Linked DNA regions of Homo sapiens: regions 1 and 2 are each linked to region 3. The links are contacts of gene promoters, found by promoter capture Hi-C in human tissues and cell types (Jung and others, 2019). All regions are on one chromosome and are shown on one strand. The core of a region is centred on a gene start or on the middle of the fragment in contact, and the rest is flanking DNA. Distances in the headings are between cores, read along the strand shown. Region 1 holds the start of MCOLN1 (mucolipin TRP cation channel 1). Region 2 holds the start of NDUFA7 (NADH:ubiquinone oxidoreductase subunit A7). Region 3 holds the start of MAP2K7 (mitogen-activated protein kinase kinase 7).

The links. Contacts are between HindIII fragments. The study calls those that stand out against the background at their distance.
Region 1: a contact is called between the fragment with the promoter of MCOLN1 here and the fragment with the promoter of MAP2K7 in region 3, in 1 of the 25 tissues and cell types used here (lymphoblastoid cells).
Region 2: the fragment with the promoter of NDUFA7 here is called in contact with the fragment with the promoter of MAP2K7 in region 3 in 1 of the 25 tissues and cell types used here (spleen).

The regions. Positions count from the first base shown.
Region 1 is chr19:7,521,262-7,524,117 of GRCh38, reverse strand. It overlaps MCOLN1 (mucolipin TRP cation channel 1), which reads right to left and starts at 1,494. Exons shown (of 14, transcript NM_020533.3): 1 at 1,337-1,494. The coding sequence starts at 1,367. It overlaps LOC105372261 (a long non-coding RNA gene), which reads left to right. Exons shown (of 3, transcript XR_936294.3): 2 at 956-1,276. RefSeq lists a silencer at 1,331-1,460. The HindIII fragment of the contact is 17,633 bases long and covers 1-2,856 here.
Region 2 is chr19:8,320,039-8,322,820 of GRCh38, reverse strand. It overlaps NDUFA7 (NADH:ubiquinone oxidoreductase subunit A7), which reads left to right and starts at 1,446. Exons shown (of 4, transcript NM_005001.5): 1 at 1,446-1,513; 2 at 1,915-1,964. The coding sequence starts at 1,463. RPS28 (ribosomal protein S28) reads right to left here and starts at 1,325. Exons shown (of 4, transcript NM_001031.5): 1 at 1,252-1,325; 2 at 1,118-1,165; 3 at 730-868; 4 at 1-549. The coding sequence starts at 1,290. The coding sequence ends at 746. It overlaps KANK3 (KN motif and ankyrin repeat domains 3), which reads left to right. Exons shown (of 11, transcript NM_198471.3): 11 at 1-237. RefSeq lists enhancers at 1-422, 423-1,390, 1,297-1,536, 1,391-2,358, 2,359-2,782. The HindIII fragment of the contact is 5,252 bases long and covers 1-2,782 here.
Region 3 is chr19:7,902,545-7,905,244 of GRCh38, reverse strand. It overlaps MAP2K7 (mitogen-activated protein kinase kinase 7), which reads right to left and starts at 1,368. Exons shown (of 11, transcript NM_145185.4): 1 at 1,177-1,368. The coding sequence starts at 1,300. It overlaps LOC124904630 (a long non-coding RNA gene), which reads left to right and starts at 1,731. Exons shown (of 2, transcript XR_007067121.1): 1 at 1,731-1,824; 2 at 2,496-2,700. RefSeq lists enhancers at 326-865, 1,514-2,091 and a silencer at 807-1,156. The HindIII fragment of the contact is 24,212 bases long and covers 1-2,700 here.

The sequences.
Region 1 (2,856 bases), core at 245-2,744, 380 kb after region 3:
CCCAACGGCTTTGGGAGGCCAAGGTGGGAGGATCCAGCCTAGGTAATACAGCGAGACCTCCCTGTCTACAAAAAAAAAACATTTTTTTTAAATAGTCAGGTGTGACGGCTCATGCCCGTAGTTAGTAGCTGGGACCCCATCTACCCGGGAGGCTGAGTTGGGAGGATCACTTGAGCCCAGGAGTTCGATGTTACAATGAGCTAGGATTATGCCACTGCACTACAGCCTGGGCAACAAAAAAAAGTTTATTAAAAAAAAAAAAAGTCCACCCTCTCCCTGAGCCTTGAGGTTGAGATCCTGAAGCTGCTCTGAGAATTCAGTGAGACACAGCAGATAAAGACCTCTTCAGCAAACACAAGCTGTTCTAATCACTGTTTATTTTTTTCCAGCCTAATGGTTAGATCTAAGCTTTCAGCAACTGCTGGAGTCAAAACCAGTCACAGTAGCCCAAAACTGTCCCTGTCACACCCCCATGGGGATGTGCTTTCTAGGGCCTGGCCCCGTGCTGCTTTCTAGGGCCTGGCCTCCTGCCTAGCAAAGCAGTCAGGATAAATGTGTGCACTGTCAGAACCTCCCTTGCAGAGAGGGACAAGTTCCCGGCCCCTCCCTTTGCAATGAGATGCTGCTGTGGCTGTTTACGACAAAGCCAGAGGGCAGGGCCCGCTTACAGAGCTGAGATTACAGCTAACCCACCCCAGACCCTACTAGCTGGGACACCGGGACATCTATCAGGTAGGGGTCCCCAGCTAGCTCCAGAAGGGGAAGCTAACACAAGGGGTCTTCCTCCAGCCTCCCCGAGGAGGGGTGGCATCAGAATTGGCTAGAAGCCCGAATTTAAGAAGGCTGCGCTTCCAGCGGTTTGGAAAGCTAAAACTGAGTTAATCGCCTGGGGGCAATCCCTCCAGCTCTCCAGGCTTGAGCTTAGGGAAGCTGAGCATTTGTCCCCTGGAATCAGGAGGGGAAGCCTGGGAGTCTCACGTGCGGGTTGGAGAAGCTGGTGCCCGCTGTCTGAGTTCCAGACGAAGTTGAGCAATCGGAACCTAGGCTCCCAGTGGGAATCCCAGGAACCTCGCCGCCCCAGAGGGAGAAGCTGGCGGCCCGGCGCGATCCCTGCCTGAGTTTGGGAACCCAGCAGAGCCTGGGTTCAGGAGGAAGAATTGGAGAGGCTGGTGCCCACCCGCCGCCCAAGTTCTAGGAGCCGTCTGCCCTTTTCTCCACCGTGAAAAGTCAGCGCTGGAGCTTAGAAAAAAAGAGACTAGGAGCTCCGCCGCCCCAGGTGGGAGACACAGCCCGCCCGCCTGAGTTCGGGGCCCCACGGTGCCGCCCGCGCCCTCACCTGAGCCGCGCGGACCCGCCGGGGCTGTCATGCTGGGGCGGGAGCGCGGGACGCAGGCGGGTACGGCGGGGCAGCCTGGGTCCGATCGCCCGCCGCTGTCACTGCGACCTCGCTCCCTCGCGGCGCGGCTTCAAACCCTCCGGCATCAGCTGATCTGTGCCTCGGTCACGTGACCCGGTAGCCCAGAGCCCCTCACGTGACCGCCTCTGGTCCCGCCCCCTGCGCCACGACAACCCCTGCCGGAACAGCGCGCATGCGTGCCTCTGCCGGCGCCCTCTGGGTCGAAGGCAGTCGCTAGGTCCTAGCGCCGACGCGCTCTGGGTGGCGGGGGATGGGCTGACTCTGAGTTTGGCAACGACGAGCTCTGCCCTGGCTCCCGGCCATGCCCCGAATCCGGTGCCAGGCTTGTGACTTCCATGTCCAGAGCTTGACCCCTTATCCTCCTTGGTGCCTGGTGATGACCCTGCCTACTATCTCAACGCTGTCTTCCTCTTTCTCCCAGAAACTCCTTTTACCCTTCTCCTGCGCATCTTCAGCAAACACGATTTCCTAATTATGTATCAAATAGAACCACTTATCCCCACCCCATGGCCCCCAGCCCAGAGTCTTCCAACATTCCTGGCCTGGATCTTTGCAGCAACCTCCTCCCCGATCTCAGCCTCCCTCCACTCCACTCTCTACCCAGCAGCCACAAGCATCTTCAAAGAATAATTCCTATCCTTCCTGCGAGAACCTGCCCTCGGCTTCCCATTGCTCTGTAATGACAGGCAGAGTCCCCACTCTCGTCTATCAGGGCCCTCTGATCTGGCTCCTACCTCCATCCAAAGCTCATCTTTCTATAGCCCCAGAGCCTTTGCATACTTTTGCCCTGGAGCGTAATGGTTAAGAATTTGGACCCTGGAGGGCAATTGGGATTTAAATCTAGGCACTGACAATGCCACTTCTACATCTTCCAGAGTCCCTTCAACTCCAAGCTGAGCGCAGTGGGCGGTGGCATGCACCGGCAATCCCAGCTACTCGGGAGGCTAAGGTGGGAGGATCGCTTGAGCCCAGGAGGTCGAGGCTGCAGTGAGCTATGATCACACCACTGCACTCCAGCCTGGGCAACAGAGCAAGACTGTCTAAAAAAAAAAAAAAAAATGTGCCTCAATTTTCTCATTTGCAAAATGGGGATATTCAAAGTCATCTACCTACTGGGGCTGTTGAGAGGATTAAATGAGAGAATGCAAAAACTATCGCATAAGGCTGGGCAAACAGTACTGATTATTAAATTAGTGATTATTGGGATTACAAAATCCTTCATTGAGAAAGCTGCCTGCCATTTATATCAGAAGTCTTGTTATGCTTCTCCTAGAATGTACTATACCCCGTAATTATTTTTTAAGTATTCTGAATTTAGTATCTATGAGCTCCATGCAGGTCGAGGCCATATTTATCTTGTTCCCTGCTGAGACCCCAGCAATCCAGAGATGTTTGTTGATTGCATAAATGAGCAACTTTTTTTGTCCACTTGTATACCT
Region 2 (2,782 bases), core at 197-2,696, 420 kb before region 3:
CTACACCTAGCTGTGGGGAGATCTCCTCGTCAGTCACCTCAGCCTTTGGCGCACAGAAGGGTCCAGGGTCCCCTGCTCAGAGGCTAACACTGGCCGAAGAGAAAGGCAATTTCAGTTGGGGTGACTGTGGCAGGAAGGGGCTCACTCTGGCCCCACCAAGGTGAGGTGGGGACCAAGTGATAGAGCCCTGATCCACCCACTCTCTGAAACTTCTTTGCTAATAAAACATTCCTACTACGCTTGTGTTTTGTTTGGGGTAGAGGGTGCAATCGACAAACACGACCCCCCGCCTCAAAAAGGAAAAGCTTCGTTTGGCAAGACCGCACGGCCAGGATTTCCAGAGTGCGGAGGATCGGTGACCGCCTGGGAGCCACTCAAGAAACCTGGAGAAACCCTAGTCGTATAACCCAGACAAGAACCTGAGTTAACTTGAAACACAAACGCTTTATTTAAAGGAGCATCTCAGTTACGTGTGGCGGACAAAAAAAAGGAGCAGACTGTGACAGACCATTCCCATCGGCCAAGTGGTCGAACCCGACATCCAAGACCCTGTAAACAGACCCAAACATGAGATGTTGACAGGCCCCGCAGCAATTGGCAAACTCCCGCCTCCCTCTTGTCAGTCTCTGTATGTAGACTCTGCCTCCCAAACCCTCTCACCCTGGGCTTAACGAAGCCTCCCTACCACCAACCAAAGGTCTATCAAAGGGGTGTCCTCTTTGCACCCACCAGCGAGCAGCCAAGCTCAGCGCAACCTCCGGGCTTCTCGCTCTGACTCCAAAAGGGTGAGCACGTCGCCCTCGCGCACGGGGCCTTTTACATTGCGGATGATGGATCGGCTCGTGTCGTCCATGAATTCCACGCGCACCTACGGGTCCCCACCGGAGTGGAGGAAGAAGTAAGGGCGGGCCGCGGAAAGGCACCGCGGAGTGGGAAGCAGATATGAATTCAGAGAACGTGTCGGGGCCAGAATACAGATCGTTAAAGGGAACCATCAGAACCCCGTGATGAAATGAGAATCGGCTCCCGGATTCCGGCTGGCAGGGGTTAGGGCAGGGTAGAGGTCACATCAGGGTTTAGGTCGCCGGCAGTCGGCCAAATGCCCCCACCCGATTACCTGCGTGCACTGTCCCTGAGAACCGGTCCTGCCCAGGACCTTGGTGACCTGGAGGAAAGAAGCTGGGTTCAGACCCGGCCCGTTTGGCTCCTCTAATCCCTCCCCCTGCCCCCAAATTCGGGCCCCCACCTCACCCTGGCCAGCTTGATAGGCTGCACACGGCTGGTGTCCATGATGGCGGCGCGGCGGCGGTCTGGCGGAGAGGAGTCACGTGCTTCGGGGAGAGCCTTTATAGGACGTTCTAGCACCGCCCACTCCCGTCTCGCGATACCACGCCGCGTCTTTCCCAGCAGCCCCAGCGGTGGAGACGTCACCGGCTGCGCCCTTCAGTATCGCGGACGGAAGATGGCGTCCGCCACCCGTCTCATCCAGCGGCTGCGGAACTGGGCGTCCGGGGTGCGCGGGGCGGACAGGGCTGCACCATGGGGGGCTTCGGGCTCCGTGTGTCCGGGACCCGCTCCTGCTCCTCACCTCCCTCCTAAGCCGGGACCCTTCGCTCTCCCCGAATCTCCCTGGGAACCCCCAGCTAGTCACCCCTTCAGCCCGGGACCCTCTCCTGGCCTGGGAACCACTCAGGCCTGGGATTTCCCCAGTCCCCGACCTTCTTAGCCTTGGATCTGTGGGCCCGGACTCTGGCTTTGCTCTTCACCTGCAGGACCCACATCCGTTTCCCCGAGTGTTCATCCCCTGCCTTCCCTTAAAATGCGCATCCCCGGACCATCCCTGGTCCCTTGCCCTCTCCTTTCCTCTCTCCTGGGGTGCCTTGCAGGCCGACCTCTCCTCTCCTCTTCCCACAGCATGACCTGCAGGGGAAGCTGCAGCTACGCTACCAGGAGATCTCCAAGCGGTGAGCAGGCCCCGCTCGCTGCCCAGCCTCTGGCTCTGTCCTTTCTCCACCAAAAACGAAATCTGTGTTCCTTTAGACCCCTGAAACGGAGGGCTGACATCCTGCCACCAGTCCCCTGCCAGGCTGTGGAGGCAGAGGTTTGCCTTTAACCTTGCTGAACTCCGGAGGACAGCCCTCCTGAAACAGCGAGGCCGGGCGTGCATTCTGACTGGCAATCAGGCTAGATTTGCAGTGCTCAGCGTGGCCATGTTAGTCAGTGTTATCCCCAAGCTACAGATGAAAAAAGAGGTCCAGAGAGGCGAAATCATTTGCCTCAAGTCACTCAGAAGCTAAAAAGTGGCAGCGGGGACTTGAACCCAGAAGTGTCCTGATTTCAGACTCATTTATATTAAAATATTAGTTGATATTTACAAGCCCCCGTCATGTATGACCTCAGCCTTGGGTTTAACTTTGTGAACCAGGAAAGTTCTTATCCACATTCTTTCATGGACGCCACATTCTAGGGAGAAGCATAGTAGGGAAACAAACACAGCAGGTAGTATTGTTCTGGAATGCTTTGAAGACAAAACAAAATAAGTGGAAGCTGGAGGGTGGCTACGTAAAGTCAGATGATTGGGAAAGATCTTTCTTTGGAAATTGACAGTTGAGTCCCCTGAATGATGGGAAGGACCCATTCAAAGAATAATTATTGAAAAAACATTCTGACCGGGCGCGGTGGCTCACGCTTGTGATCCCAGCACTTGGGGAGGCTGAGGCAGGCGGATCACGAGGTCAGGAGTTTGAGACCAGCCTGGCCAACACAGTGAAACACAGTAAAA
Region 3 (2,700 bases), core at 119-2,618:
ATGACTCCATAGAGAGAACTAAATAAACTACGAAGGTCACATCAGAGGAGACAAGAGAGAATTTTACTGGGTCAAGAAAGACACAAAAAGGATCATGGGTCAGGGGTGGTGTTCACAGGGTTTGAAAATCTAATTTCCTCCAGCCCAGAGGATTTAGAGACCAGGATCTTGGGGAAAAAGCCGGGAGACTAGATATGGTCAGTGTTCCCAGGCCAGGTGTGTGTGAAGCGAGAGGTACTGATCTAGGATGACAAGGTGTCAGGGAGGTAGGTACCGAGGTGGTGGGACTGATCAGAAAGCAGGTGGATGTATGCTGGGGCGCGGCGGGAGCAGGCCTAGAGTCACACTGGCCCCAGGTGTCCCCAGGTCAGGTGGGTGTGGGTGTGAAGGGAAGGGGAGCCATCACTTGAACACAGGTGACAAAGTCACCGGGCTGGCTGGGGGTCGATGTGCATTTCTGGAGGTCAGACACCACACGCTCACCAAGATGGTGGCAGTGAAACTGGTCACAGGGATTTGCGGGGCCTGGTGTATGTGGGAGGGGGTCTGCTGAGCCCAATGCCATGGTCACTGTCGCCAAGAGGGGGAGAAGGGACCCCCTCCCGTCCCCCCACCTCAGACACGGTCACAGGGAGAGCGAGAGGGAGAATCCTCGGGTCAGAAGAGATGGGGAGGGGCTCTATGTGGTCAAGTAACCTCAGGTGTCCCCGAGCCAGGCGTGCGCGTGTGCGTAGATCGTCGCTGCACGGGGCTGACAAGCCCCCAGGCCGGGGGAGGGGGGCGCCAGACAGTCCCTGAGATGACGAGAGTGGTAGCATCAGGTCAACAGGGACGTGTCTGTGTTTTCGGGGCGACCTGGATGTGGTCACTGTCGCGTGGAGTCGGGGAAGCCCGACCCAGAGGATCACGGCGATGGGGGCGGGTCATCAGCTGGGGGCCTCGCCTGGGTCCGGGAACTGGGCTCCCAAGCCCTGAGGGTGCGAACCCCCCGGAGCTCGCCGGCTCCACGCCCCCCGGGTCACCGTGACCCTCGCCCCGCGAGCCCGCAGCGGGGGGGGCGGAGAGGAGAGCGAGCGCCCCGGAAGCGGGGGCGGGGCCTTGTGGTGGGGGCGGGGCCTCCCGCGGCGCGCGCCCCGCCCCGCCCGCCCGCCCCCTCCCCCACGCCGCCGTGCTTACTGGGCCTGGGCCGCTGGGGGCTGATATCCAGGTTGAGGTCGATCCTCCGCCGGGCCTCCCGGTTCTCCTGCTTCAGCTTTGCTTCCAGGCGGGACAGCTTCTGTTCCAGGGAGGACGCCGCCATCTTCCCCGCCGCCACCGCCGCCGCGCACCGCCCGGCCGCCCGTCAGTCCGGCAGACAAACACCGCACTGCGCCTGCGCCCGGATGACCCCGTCGAGCCGCCGTCTCGCCCCGCACCGCGCATGCCCGCGGCGCGCACCCGCCCTTCTCCGCGTGCGAACCTCCGCGCGTGCGTGCTTCGGCTCAGCCCGAAGGATGACGCCACCTAGAGCTCGAGGCAGGCAACGTGCAACCCCCGCCTTCGTCGCCACCACCACCGTAGTGCGCATGCGCCAATTCCCGATCGCTCCTGAGAGAGGCGCTGCGAGGAAACACCATTCTTCTGAGGACGGTGGGCGGGGAAAACGGCGCGCATGCTTAGCGAGGCGAAGCCGTGTTCGCCCGCGTGGCTTTTGCGCATGCGCATTCCTGGAACCTCGTTCCCAAAGCGGCAGTCGATCCCTGGTCTCCACGGCGGTGCAGCCTCAGCCTCCTCGCTTTTCACGGTCGGCTTGGGCGTCCCTTCGGAATGCCTTCCTCACTGATGGTGCTTTATTAGGATTCCTCTTGTGCTTAATTACCTCCTAGCCTCCTGCTGGCAGCGGGGTGCCGCCTCCTCACCGTAATTAGGCTCCGTCGAGAGCCCTTTCCCTTCTTGCCAGCCCCAGCAGGCTCAGAGTTGGCCGAAGCCAGGGGGGAGGGGACGGCCATGGGAACCCAGCGGTGTGACCCCTGCCCTCGGCGACGGGGCCAAGGTCAAGGCCAGAGTTGTTGGCCAGACCCACATAGAACCTCAAGACACCCCCCTTATCTCTCTCGCACCCGGAACGTGAGCCCAGCGCCTGGACGTGGAGAATTCCTATCTGAGGAGGGGCGCTGGGGTTAGGTGCCAGTGCTTGGGCCCCCGGCAGCCTAAACCACTCCTTTAAGTGGTCCGACGGGTGCTGGGGAAATGTCCCATCTGGAACCCAGGGATCCCCCCAAGAGCGGCTTCCCTCTGCTCTTAGATGCGAGAAGGAAGTTCTGATTTTGCGGACACCCGGGAGGTGGCCAGGGCCAGGCAGACTCTGCCAAGTGCCCTTCCAGCTTCTGGTCCAACGAGGGAACACTTTGGGATGAGAGTTACCGGCTTGTCGGAACTCCTCTGGTGACGATTTGTGGGTGGAGCACACACAAGTGTAGAGTTATAGCTGAGGTCTTTACCTTTCCGTCTTCCAGGCAGCCTTCTGTGCCTCTGCTCTGAGAACATGAGACTCATCCTTGATTCTGGCACACGGGTGTTACTTGGTCACATGAAATAAAAGGTTACGGGCATGGTGGTTCACGCCTGTAATCCCAGCACTTTGGGAGGCCGAGGCGGATGGATCACGAAGTCAGGAGAGGACCAGCCTGGCCAAGATGGTGAAACCCCGTGTCTACTAGA